Linked DNA regions of Homo sapiens: region 1 is linked to region 2. Evidence: promoter capture Hi-C in 16 types of primary human blood cells and fetal thymus (Javierre and others, 2016). All regions are on one chromosome and are shown on one strand. Each heading gives the region's core, a stretch centred on a gene start or on the middle of the fragment in contact. The rest is flanking DNA. Distances are from core to core; before and after follow the strand shown. Region 1 overlaps LINC02426 (long intergenic non-protein coding RNA 2426). Region 2 holds the start of PPFIA2 (PPFI scaffold protein A2).

Region 1 (7,067 bases), core at 1,065-3,564, 240 kb before region 2:
CAGCAAACAATACAGATTTCAGAGTGGACTTCAACAGGAATAAAAATTCTCCAAGGAGTCATTGGTAGTGATGGTAAGGGTCATGGTAAGATGGGCCAGTCATGTTTCTACCCCTTGGTTCCCAGACCCACGCAATCTTCCTATTAATGACACATTATCATATAGAGTTTCCTGATTTCATGCACATACAACATCATGAAGGATGCCCTACCCCCACACGTCTTCTTCAAGTGTTGCCTCCAAGCTAGAGCTTCAGTCATTCCATTGTTCTATGAAGCTTGTTATTTCTGGATGATGAGGGATGTGTTATGACTAGTCAATCCCATGGGCATGGTACTACTCCCATATCTCCTTGCTGTGAAGTGTTTCTGCTGGTTGGATGCTGATATGGTTTGGCTGTGTTCCCACCCAAATACATTAACATAATACGTTAACATTTACATAATATATTTAGAATCACATGGTTTCCAGTGATTAGGATTTAGTCATGCCTTGAAAGGAACAGAAGTCAGTGGCTAGGCAGCACATTCCTTATAAAGGATACATTAATGATGTACTTAGGATGACTAATATTAAGAATTTAAACACAGTGAATTTTTTTCCTCAGAGGAAGGAATTTTATTTTCCAAAAAGCATTTACCTCTGACATGTCAATTCCTGATTTCAGTGGCTGCAGACTTATGTACTTCTGTGCCACCCTTAGGGCAAGTAAAGTACATGTCAAGTAATAAACTACTTTTAGCACAGAAACACCAGAAGATATGCTCACATCCTGTGGTGTGAGGCACAGTGGGACAATCTCCACATAGAGAGCATTCTTTGCCACTGGTGGCTAATGTATTGTCACTATTGGGAACACCAGTAAGAGGGATACACCATGAAGATAACTTGGCTTTCAACTTCTGGACATTGATAAGTGGTAGAGAAAAATCAGAAATTCAGCAAAGCCATGCCAGAGAATGGCATCTCTGAATTCCCACATGTTGTGGAAGGGACCCGGAGGGAGGTATTTGAATTATGGGGGCAGGTCTTTCCCATGCTATTCTCATGATAGTGAATGAGTCTCATGAGATCTAATGGTTTTATAAAGGGGAGTTTTCCTGTACAAGCTCTCTCTGTTTGCTTGCTGCCCTCCATGTAAGATGTGGCTTGCTCTTCCTTGCCTTCTGCCATAATTGTGAGGTTTCTCCAGCCATGTGGAACTGTAAGTCCATTAAACCTCTTTTTGTGTGTGTAAATTTCCCTGTCTTGGTTGTGTCTTCATCAGTAGTGTGAAAATTGACTAATACAGTAAATTGGTACAAGTAGAGTGAGGTGCTGCTGTAAAGATAACCAAAAATGTTGAAGCGACGTTGGAACTGGGTAGCAGGCAGAGGTTGGAACAATTTAGAGGGCTCAAAAGATAGGAAGATGTGGAAAAGTTTGGAACGCCCTAGAGACTTGTTGAGTAGCTTTGACCAAAATGTTGATAATGATATGGACAATGAAATCCAGGCTGAGGTGGTCTCAGATGAAGATGATGAACTGGTTGGGGACTGGAACAAAGGTAACTCTTGTTATGTTTTGACAAACAGACTGGCAGCATTTTGCCCCTGCCCTAGAAATCTGTGGCACTTTGAACTTGAAAGACATGATTTAGGGTATGTGGTGGAAGAAATTTCTAAACAGCAAAGCATTCAAGAGGTAACTCGAGTGCTGTTAAGGGCATTCAGTTTTAAAAGGGAAAGAGGGCATAAAAGTTTGGAAAATTTGCATCCTGACAATGTGATAGAAAAAAAAAATCCCATTTTTTTTTTAGGAGAAATTCTAGCCAGCTGCAGAAATTTGCATAAGTAATGAGGAGCTGAATGTTAGATCTCCAGGGCACGTCAGAGACTCTTATGGCAGCCCTTTTCATCACAGGCCTGGAGATTTAGGAGGAAAAAATGGTTTCATGGGCTGGGCCCAGGGCCCCTCTCCTGTGTACAGTCTAGAGACTTGGTGATGTGTGTCCCAGTTGCTCTAGCCGTGACTAAAAGGGGCCAAGGTACAGCTCGGGCTGTTGCTTCAGAGGGTGGAAGCCCTAAGCCTTGGCAGTTTCCATGTGGTGTTGAGCCTGCAAGTACATGGAAGTCAAGAATTGAGGTTTGGGAACCTCCACCTAGATTTCAGAGGATGTATGGAAATGCCTGGATGCCCAGGCAGAATTTTGCTGCAGGGCTGGGGCTCTTATGGAGAATTGCCTTCCACCATGATTGTGAGGCCTCCCCAGCCATGTGGAACTGTAAGTCGATTAAACCTGTTTTTTTTTTTAATTGCCAAGTCTTGGGTATGTCTGTATCAATAGCCTCAGGCTGGTGGTGGCAACTGAGTCACAGCAAGCAGGAAAGGCAAATGCACATCCTAAGTAGGTGTCTAACCCTGTGAGAATCAACCACTGCCCTTCTCAGGATGGAAAGGGCCCAATGCTGTTGATTTCCACCATGTGGTCAGTTGGTCCCTTGAGGAATAGTGCCACACTGGGATGTCTGGAGCTGTTATACACTGAATTGTGCCTTTCCAAAATTCATATTTAGAAATCCTAACTCTCAGTGTGACTGTATTTAGAGATAGGGATTTTCAGAATATAATTAAGTTTTAATAAAATCTTAAGGTAAGGTCCTAATATGAAAGGACTGTTGTCCTCATCTGTGGAGGAAGAGACACCAGAGTTCTCTCTCTTTCCCTCTCTGTACATCCCACAAAAGAAAAGCCATGTGAGAACACAATGAGAAGGTGCAGTCTGCAAGTGAATGAGGGAGGCCACACCAGAAACCAACCCTGCTGGCACCTTAATTTTGGACTTCCAGGCTCCAGAACTGTGAGAAAATAAATTTTTGTTGTTTAAACCACCCAGTCTGTAGTATTTTGTTATGCAGCCCTAGCAGACTAATATAGTTGCTGACTAGATAGAAATTCAAAGACATAGTAGCTGGATGTGTGTGTCAATTATGCTCTCTCCAGAGGAGGCGCTGAGTGAGTGGCTGCCACATCTTATTATTTTATTAATCAATTGGCAGGCAATTTTTTAAAGTTGGAATTGTTTTAAATATAAGAATTAACTACAAAATTTTAATAAAATGCCTTCTCCATTCAAATCACTTTTTTGTTTTTCATTTATTTAAATCGAGATAAAATTCATATAACATAAAGTTCAACACATTAACAATATTAAAGTGTAAAATCAGTGATTTTTGGTGTATTCACAATATTTTGCAATTATCACCACTAAGTCATTCCAGAATGGTATAAACAACACCCAAAAACCCTACTCTTATAGAGCACCTGAATATTTCAGTTAAGAGTGCTAGGGAAGAGATAACTAATACTATATCTCAGCCCTTAGAGCTTTCAGCAATCTGTGAAAAATTCCAATAACATGTATTTCTGCAAGAAGGTATATTTTGCCTTCAGTTTCAAAAGGCATGTTATTGAAATTGCTAAAAATCGAAAGTAGAATTGTCTTAAACATCTTTTTATAGTCCATTCATTAAATCTTTAGCATGAATAGAAGTGAATCTGACTTTTTTAAATCTCAAAATAAATCCATAAAAAATCATTTCCCACTTATTTGGAGTTGGCATCTCTGAACCACTACATACATTTATAAATAATGTGGCATATTTTTATTGTACATCTTCTATGTTTAACCCAACTAGGTGGTCAGGATAAAACAATAAAAAAGACAGGTGCTCATTCATGCTCATCCTACTCTTAAGGAAATTATAGAGTAATGTGTTCCTTATCGGACCTTCACTTAAGATGTTAAGATCAAAGAAATTTTACATCTTTTGATGCAGCTTTGGAGGCCTGTGTATCTGTTTTACCTCTATTACCATTTGTATGGTCAAGTAGAGCATAATGAGAGGAAACACTGGGCAGAGTATCTGTCATTTTATTCAGTTGATACACACTGTGAAGATAAATGTTTCTAATAAGGTAAGCAAAAATGAGCATTGTCATACAGTGCATAGCCAGCTGGAAGTAAAAACATTAAATGCAAATGAAGGAAACCCAGTCCAAATCAAATTCATGAGCTACAGAAATGGGACCTGGGTATGTTTTAAAAATTGTTTTGTATGTATTACTATTTTCTTAAATTATATGTTACAGATCAGGAGTGTCCAATATTTTGGCTTCCCTGGGCCGCATTGGAGGAAGAAGAATTGTCTTGGGCCACACTAAAATACACGAACACAGTAGCTGATGACCTTTTAAAAGTGGCAAAAAAAACTCATAATGTTTTAAGAAAGTTTATGAATTTGTGTTGGGCCACATTCAAATTTGTTCTGGGCCGCATGCAACTCACAGGCTAGGGGTTGGACAAGCTTCTTATAGACCCTTTCTATAATCTGTTCTATAAAATAATAATTTCCAGTGATGAAATTATTTTCTTCATTATTTACCAAAGATATCTTAATCTTTTAAGGTATTTAAGGTATCTACTATTTCTGCAGTGAACAAAATTCTTCTGTGAAAAAGTGGCCTACAGCCTGTGGGTGTGTGTCTTTCTCTACATGTGTGTGTGCTTGTGGGTGTGTGTCTATGTATGCACCATTGGGTGTAATCCTTATATTTCTTACTACCTAATCTAGTTCTTTATTTACACTATACATATTCTGGAGTTTACGCTAAATTACTCTTCTATATTAAATTACAAATCCTCATGAGGAAATGTCTCTTCGTTCCTTTGGAAGTTAAATTTAATATAGTCATAGTAAAGTTTATTCTCAAGACTTTTAGCAATATCTAATAAATATGTCTAAGTAAGAACATGCATTATTTTTATATCATCAAACTCAAGGACAATATCACTGGGGCAACTTTATAGCATTTTAAAAATTAAATACATATAATTCTTTTGTTGAAGTTGCCTAGGAACACATTGTATTTGAAAATGCTTCCAAGAATCACAGTAAGGTGGAAGGAGTAGATTGGAGCCAAGAGAAGATTTTACTTTACAAATACAGTTTACACTAAACTCCTTTCAAAAAATACAACTGGAGTTGTGGTGGTAAGTTTGCTTCTGAGTTAGATAGAAAATGTCTACCTCTTAATTAGTCATATTTGTTAAAATATAAAAAATTGTCACATCTTCTCTCACATGATTTGGTTGCTAGACTACATAGTTAATGATGTGTAATTTATGAATGTGTAACTACTCCCTTCATAACCCGAGGAAACATTTTAGTTGCCTTATTCCTCCTAATAATTTAGCTTCAATTTTGAAAGTGCTTCCAGTTTATGAATCAAAAAAGGGTTATGAATAAAATAATCTTTGTGATATCATTTTGCTTTCTGAGTAAGGAAATATTGGGGTCTGGGAACAGCAAAAGCAAAATAATACCCAGCGTTAGGGAAGGCATGAAGAAGGCAAGTTGTGCTATTCAAAAGTGGGCTGTTTTGGCTTTTTGCAAAATATAAATGTGTTCTGTTCTTTCTTATTACTTTTTTCCATGGGTCTAAGCTTATTATTTTATCACAATTCACTAAACACCACTTCAATTGGTTTATATTTTGTATAAAGTACCATATTAACTAGTATGCCAATTACAGGTATAAAATGCAATCTGAATGTGACCTTAATGTAATTCAAGAATTGCATAATCATATAATTAGAGTTCTGATTGGTTTTATTTGAACAGGCAGCGATCTGCATCTCAAAGACGTAGGAAGCACAAGGCATTCCTGCAGCAAATATATTATTGCCTGTGTTTTATGTCTCCATAATATGTGACAACTTATATTTGTTCTACATATTTATCTAAAATGGCAGTTCAACAAATACTGTGGATAAAATAACCCAAAACATCAAACTTCTTTATATTACAGGTTGAACATTCCTAATCTGGAAATTCAAAATCTGAAACACTCCAAAATCCAAAACTTTTTTGGTGCTGACATGATGCCATAAGTGAAAAATTCCATGAAGACCTCATGTCATATTCCTGGTCAAAATTTTGCTTCATGCATAAACTTATTTAAAATATCTCATAAAATTACTTCATGCTATGTGTATGAGATATATATAAAAAATAAATGTTATGTTTCGATTTGGCTACCATCTCCAAGCTATCTCATTATGTATATACAAATATTTAAAATTCACCAAAAAAATCTAAAATCTGAAACACTTCTGGTCCCAAGCATTTCAGATAAGGCATATTCAAACTTTATATCAATATGCTAGATATTCTCTGGGTAGAAGTCTCCTGCTCCTCTGAAGTCACTTGAGATAGGTTCAAACCTCCAATTCCATGATATGTGGAAACATAAGCCTTTTTTCCAAGTGTTGCATGAATTTACTGGGGCTTCTGTGGTTATGGTTTCTCTATCCTTGAGCTCAGGTTTCTGTACATGCTGTGTTTCACCCCACCCAACTTACCACCATTCACAAGACTTACAGGGAAATATCCTACAAGAAAACACTCATAACTAAAGTAGTTCCATAGAAGATTGATTGGGAAGGATATTATAATGAGGTGCTGAAGTTGGAGGAGGTAAGGCTGAAGTAATAGAAATAACTAGAAAGGAGACAGTTGCTGTTGGATGCTTCTTAAAAGCCTCCTGTTGCACACCGTCTCTCTGGTTCTTCTGACTTTCTTGCTGTTCTGTATTTGTCTCCATACATTTATCTCTCAAGAGCTGAACAAATTCCTTTCCGTGTCTCCTAGAGAAAAATTTAGTCACAATTGTTTGTTTCTTGGTTTTTCCTGATCCTAATGTCTATAGTACCTAACCTCTGCAGAAAGTAGCTTAGCACAGTAGTTACCCAAAGACATTTTTTTTTCCTTAGGTAAGTTCTTATTTTGTCTTGTCCATGTGACTTTTGTGAAGGAAATGTTCTCATGTGAATGAAGCAGAAATGGTTTACTTGCAATAGCTGAGGTTTACGTTCCCAAGTTAGGACTGCAGGGGGTGTCCTGAGGCTGATGTGTGTACCCAGCTCTTCACAGTGATGGCCATATCAGTTGCCACATTCACTCTATGATACAGCTACCTCTGCAAAAGTAGAACAGCGTTTTCATAGGCAGGGACATATTTCTCTA
Region 2 (6,638 bases), core at 761-3,260:
AAGGGCCTAAACTAGAGAAACTGGTGCAGGTGGTAACTCTTCTCATGTGAATCGGCTCACCTAATGCCTCATGCAAAATTGCTACTTTAAACAGTCTTTCTCAGTTTTAATATATTATTTACACTCTTTGCAGTGAAGTTAGCAGTGATAATGTCAAGTTTTTCAGCTGAAATTTACTATGAAGACTGTATCTTCTTAACAAAATATCCTTTAACTCGTGATATTTTTTTCTGCCTCCCATTATCAAAGTTTTTCTTTCTGCGATACCTACCATGGGTTAGCCTTTAACTATGCTGTGTCAACTGTATGTGGGGATTATACTTACAATTAAAACTTGTATTTGACATACGAATGGGACTCAAGGAAATCAAAACTCTTCTTGGAAACAGTAGGAACATCTGAGCCAGTAATTAACAAACGTTGATTGCCAAGGAAATTCAAACCAAGGTTTAATAAGGAAGGAATTCTTGTAAAAATAGACATAATAGCTATATGTAAAAATAAGAATATCTCTCATGTATAAGGAATTTTTATGTTTTGTGTAGAATTCTAGAGAGTGAAAGTTATGAGTACTGATATATGATTAGTATGTTGAAGCTATTACAATATGAAGTTTGTCTGAAAATAGACTAGGCTATCCTGTGAGGTGAAGAGTTTCCTGTAGTTAGGGGTATTTAAGCCACATCAAATTGTGGGTCGATTGGGTGGTCTAGACCCTTCCTCCTCAAGTGTAGTACCATCTGGGAGTCATTAGAAGGGTAGAATTTCAGGTTTCACCCCATTCCTGGTGAATCAGTATCTACAACTTAACAAGATCCATGGATGATCTGTATGCACATTATGTCTGAGAAATAGTGCTCCAGTTGACATCTAATGAATTTTCGTATTATTTTTATACTTCTTATAGGATTGTGTTGTGTTGTAAAATTTAAATAACAGTCTAGAATAGAAGTTGGGTAAATACATGAGCTTTACCCCACTTTCCATTGTAAAGTCGCTAACTGAATTAAATACTTCCCTCAGAAACAAAGATTGTTTCTTGGATATTGTAGTTAATTTTAAGTGAACAGTTATTTACATACTAGTTCTTTGTTAACTTTGGACTCTTGGCGTTACACAAAAGTAAAACACGTCTTTTGGCTTTCGTGTAGCACACTCAGAATATTTTCAGTAACCCCCAAAATATATTCAGTGTTTAATCCTCCAATTCCTTCATGCATGTCCTCTTCATTTTCACCAAACCCAGCAGGATTCGTGACTCTCCCTCACAGAAACGTTCCCTTTCTGCTCAGAGTAGGTACTGATTTTGTCTCCTGCTTCCTCAGTCTGTATGAATGGACAGCAGCAACGGAAAGAAAAGAGGGTAGGTAAAGGGAGGTGGAGATATAAGGGGGACTGGAGCGCGATGGAGAGACCAGACTCTGCTCAAAGCTAAAATTTACTCGGGCAGGGAATACTTAACATACAATTCCCATTACCAAAACAATATGAATGAAGAAGAACTGAAGAGGTAATGAGAAATGACAGATGCCGCCACACCCTAGATTGGCTCAGGTCCCTACAACCATGACTACCATGCCCTGGCCCAGTGGGAAGAAAGCTGCTTAAAGAAATGACAAGCACAGAAGACCGGGGAGCCAAAAGGTGCCCAAGTCCGTTCCCATCCCCACCAGCGCAGGCTGACACAAGCGAAGGCTGTAGAGCCCATTGTGTGAAAGAAGCCCAGGCGGGGAAGCGTGTGCCCCCTTCCCACTTTGCCCATCCCTGGCCCTCGCCTTCGCAGGGGGCACTGGGAGCAGAGCGAGCCTCGGCAGCCCGGGAGCGGCTCTGGGGGAGACGAGTGTATCCGCGGGCGCGTGTGCGTGAGGAGGAGAGCAAAGACGTGATTACTTCAGAATTTATTTAAGGGCCGGTGGAAACCACTGCAGCAGCTTCCAGGGGAAGCCCTTGTTCCAGAGGAAGAGGAGGTGGTGGCTGCCAAGGAGGAGGAGGGGAGGAGACGGAGGAGGAGGAGTAGCAGCCACCGCACGAGGCAAGTGAGGAGAGAAGATGCTGTAGCGTCCTCACCGGCTGCCAGCAGGTTGGTTCTTCCGGCCAATTGAAGCAAGCAAAGAGGCTTGCAGAAAGGCCGGGAGGAGAAAAATGGGTGTGTGTGCTGTGGCGGCGGGGGGGCGGCGGGGGGGAGGGAAGGGGGGCCGGGGGACGGCGTGGGGTGATGTTTGCCTTTCCAGAGAAAAAGCGCCTCCTTTAAGTGAAACGAGACACGGGAGCGCGCGGAAACAGGCTGGGGGCCAGGAGGAGACCTGTCCTGCTTTTTGCATCCCTAGGGACTCGTTTTCCTTTAGGTTTCTAACTCCCAGGGTTAGCCTTAAACTCCAGAGGGGCTCCAGGAGGGGAGACTGGGTGGAGAACTTCTCTCCCAGATACTTCTCACGCCTTTTCTCCAAGCTTTCTTTTGGAGGGACGCCCCACACACCCCGGGTGGCCCGGGCGCGGAGGGGGAGCGGCGCCGCGTGGTTAAGTTTCTGAAAGTCAAACCCAGTCCCCGGTCTCCGGTCTCCGCCCCGGGGCTCCAGCTGCACGCGGGGAGCTGCGGCTGTTCTGGCAAAGGGGCCGCGGCTGCTTTAAGAGCCGCCTCCCCCTCTCCTCCTTTGACAATGGTCTGAACCGAGCTTTGCTTCCCAAAGCAAAATTTGTAATATGCCATTTTTCCGATGGACGCTTCTCCTTTTGGCTGCTGACGGAGCCACGGGAAGATGCCGAGCTCCTGCCACGCCACCGGGCCGGGGCACGTTCCGGGAGGGCGCCGGGGCACGCGTGTGTCTGAGCTGCCTTTCTCCTCCCGTTGCTAGGGAAATGGTCCAGGAGTGCTGGGTGTGAGCCTCCCTTCTCCTCAAGCCGGAGACTGCGGTTGTCATTGATCAATTGAAGAAGCAAGGACCCGAAATCACAGACATTAGGTACAGAAGCTGTCTTTGAGTTTTACTGTCTCCTTTCGCTGTATTTTTTGACCACCTCCCCGGCCCCACCCCGCCCCCAGGGAAGATGAGATGCAAATTCCTCCTTGTTGATTACCGTTAGGTGCCTTTTGCTTTCACCTCATCCTCTCCATCTCCTATCTCTCTACCTCCTGCCTACTTGGCTGTGTCCTGTTGGGCAGGATGAACAATTTTAGTGTGGAAATGATGAAGTCAACTTCTTCAAGGTGGTGGGGGGTGTGGCTGAGAGATAACTGTCCAGTAGTGTGGGTTGAGCTGGCTCTGGCTGTCCGTAAATGCACTAGGGTAAAGAAAGTGTAAAATGTGTCCATTAAAGGTGATAATCATATTTCCCGAGGACAGAGGCTTTCAAAGAGTTAAATAGGAGGGAGAATATTCATGTAATGTAATCAGACAATGGCTAGGATTTCTCTCACTGAATTACTCCTTGTAGGTTAACTGAGGTGGAGCTGGGATGGTTCTTAAGACTAAATGTTTTCAGAAGAAACTCACTATGGATAATAATTACATTCTTACCTCTAGTAGGGCCGAATTCCTAGTGATATGATTAAATAAAGTCATTTGTTGACAGAAAAAAGAAAAAAAGCTTTTTGTAGCACTCTCATATCTGAAGAGGTACTGCTTGGATGGCATATATTGTTAAGGAACACATTGGATCTTGAAAGCCCTTGAGTGAGGACTCCAGTGGGCATTCAAACTTTTATTTTGAAATCTGAGAAATTTAAAAGACAGTCAAGGCTATGTGCTAAGAATAAAGGAGTTATTTTCCTGATATAAAATTCTTCCGGCTAAATTTAAGCACTGGGATAATTAAGCCAATCAGATTTATTATTACTTTTTTTCTTTCTCAACAAAATTAACAATGTCTCTGACTAGGTTTCAAAACCTTCAGTAATTTAATGAGGAAAGCATCAATATCTAGATGAAGATAACATAATTTATATATCAAATTGACTTTGAGGGGGGAATGATGAAAAAGCAAATATCAAGGCAAATTGTTAAAATGCCCTTTCTGGCTTTTCAGAAATTATGTGATGAATGCAGTTTTTAGTATTGATACTGATTATAAAAGTTAAAAGTGATGTATCTGGGTGAAACGCACTAGACATTGAATGACCATAGCCTTCCGGACTGTGCAAGCTGCTTCAGATGTCATCCATTTTTTAAAAGGGTGTTTAACTCTTATATTGAATATATATCTTTAATTGCTTTTAATACTTAAAATGTGCAAAATGTGCATTTAAGAAATGTTATACTGCATTTTAAGGATTAATCAAATATTTTGTAATTTATGTTAGAATCTGAATTCTAATGAAAGAAACTAAGCTAGTTCATGAAAGTGGCCTTATTTTTTTGTAGACTATTTTTTTCTAATTTTGATAAGAAGACTTTGGATTTACTCATTTGGGTTGACTGCAAGGTATAAGCAGCATATATTCATCTTATTTCCTAAGTAAATTTTGCATAATTTGATTTTTATAAATTGGATTTGAAGAGTTCAAAAGTATCTACTAGAATTAAACCTTTACAGCAGCAGAATGAGTCGTAAAGGTAAAATATTGTTTCTACAAAGATTAATGTTGATCACTTTATAATAGAAATTAATACTTACATTTGTAATTGCCCTTTATATGTTTTGCTGTGTGTTCTCAGTCAGGTAACCTATTATATATTTTCTTTTTTTTCCTCTAAGCATAGATTATTGGCCCTCTTTCATGAAAGAGAGAACTAAAGTTTTAACATGTAAAGTAACTTGTCCTGGTTCACCTGCCTTAGGAGTGGAATCAAATCAAGTTCTTTTGAGTGTAGATTTAATAGACTTTCTAAGTCCCTAAGCCACTTTTCATCATAGCATCTTTTGACTAAATCGAAGACTACCTTTAATGTTGATTTAAGACCCTAAAGTTTGTGAATGTTTATATCCCATGGTAACAATGAGGGATTGTTAGGATATTATTTTCAGGTGAAAATTATATTGGGGTATTCACTGCTGTTATGCTTTGCCTTGGAATTTAAAGTTGTTCTGAGTGATTCAGGGTGGAAAGGGATTAATAACTTTCATTCAAGAAGGACGTAATTTAAAATATAGATTTAAGAATTTAAATCTATAGGTAACCCTAACGTTGTGAGTGTTTGGGCACAAATTGTCATGATGCTATGATTTGCTCTCCCAGTACTTTGTTTTAACCTTAAATGTCAAAAGTAAACATATTGGCTCCTGGTAATCATTTCTCAGAATGACATAGCGGCTCAATGTGTAGGTTTCATGCATGGCCTGCTAACTAATCGTTTTAAATAATCAAATGTGTTGGAACACTTTTTGTTGTTTTCCAATTCCTTTTCAATTAATATAAAGAAAATTTGAAGCATCTAAAAAGAGTCTGTATTTTCCATCTTTGTGATAGTCTTTGAATGAAAATCAAATTGAGATAAATGCAAGAAACAGTTTTATCCATTAAGTGTGTAACAGTAGTATCAAGTGTGGGTATCAGGGTGTATGTGCTTATATTCATTTTATGTGTGTTCTCTGTTATATATTTTAGTGTGCATACAAAATTGAACAAATTAAATTCCTGCCTTCAGGTAGCTCAGTGTTATGAGCAATGAGCAAAACTTCAAAGCGTTTAAAACTTTCCTAATGTTCAATGACCCCCTTAATTTTTTAATATAGGTTATCAATCACAAAATACTTTACTTACATACTTTTTAAAAGTTTTTCTTAGTTTTCAGGAGTCCCTGACCAGATCATTCACAGATAATTGAATTTCGCTCCTCAATAACCCAATTTATATGAAGACTCACATAAAAAGTAATTAAATATTGAGCTGTTAAATCTTGACATTCTATTTGAAAATATCACCAGAAATATTTTCCCCAAGGACAGGAATGTATAGGCAGAAAAATTAATTAACCTTGCATTATAAAACCAAACAGTGCTTCAGGATCAACAGCCAAACCTGCCTTTCTTTACATCAGCCTTTTGCAAAACCAAGCCATCTAATTAATAGCTGCTGGCCATAGTACAACAACCAAAATTGAGATGAGTTTGACTTTTCTTTGAAACATTAGCTAGAGGATGAAAGAGAAAATGAGATAATTTCTGATTTTTAAGTTGCCACATAATTGTTCAATCATGCACCTAAGTGTGTTTTGTCTATTTTAAATCAAATTTAAAAATATTCTGAAAACAGTTCGTTTATTTCATGACTGAGAACTTGTGATTGGCGGTTGAGATGTGAAGTTACTACATTAGCTAATATAATTTATGACATCTGTTTTGCGGAATATTTGAAAGAGTGCTAGTTTGTATTGTTTGGATGAAAACCAGACCATGCAGTTAACAGGAAAAAGGGAATATTAAGTGTAATGATGAGTATAATGCTCTAAACAAATTTATATACCTCAGTTTATTTCATAAGGTTTTGGTCTAATTCAGTCAGTATCACTTATCTGCTCTGGGTAGACCACGTAGGAATTCAGGGAGAGAGCATATAAAAGTAATAAAATGGAAAATGTAATGTCAGAAAGCTTAAAACTAGTCAGTTTGAAAAAAATCGGTTGACTAAAAAACAAAGTAAAAGCTGATTATTATATAAAATAAATACTCAATGATTTGTATATTTTCTACAAGAAAGAGTA

What was found. The method cuts DNA at HindIII sites, captures the fragments that hold promoters and counts their contacts. A CHiCAGO score of 5 or more calls a contact.
Region 1: a fragment that was not itself captured here is called in contact with the fragment with the promoter of PPFIA2 in region 2 in 1 of 17 cell types (neutrophils); the score reaches 5.6 in neutrophils.

What each region holds. Positions count from the first base shown.
Region 1 is chr12:81,992,526-81,999,592 of GRCh38, reverse strand. LINC02426 (long intergenic non-protein coding RNA 2426) reads right to left here. Exons shown (of 3, transcript NR_110089.1): 3 at 6,460-7,067. Among named protein-coding and RNA genes, the nearest start is that of LINC02426, 42 kb to the right of the region's middle. The HindIII fragment of the contact is 4,069 bases long and covers 280-4,348 here.
Region 2 is chr12:81,754,722-81,761,359 of GRCh38, reverse strand. It overlaps PPFIA2 (PPFI scaffold protein A2), which reads left to right and starts at 2,010. Exons shown (of 33, transcript NM_003625.5): 1 at 2,010-2,080; 2 at 2,853-2,960. RefSeq lists an enhancer at 2,212-3,150. The HindIII fragment of the contact is 5,625 bases long and covers 1-2,450 here.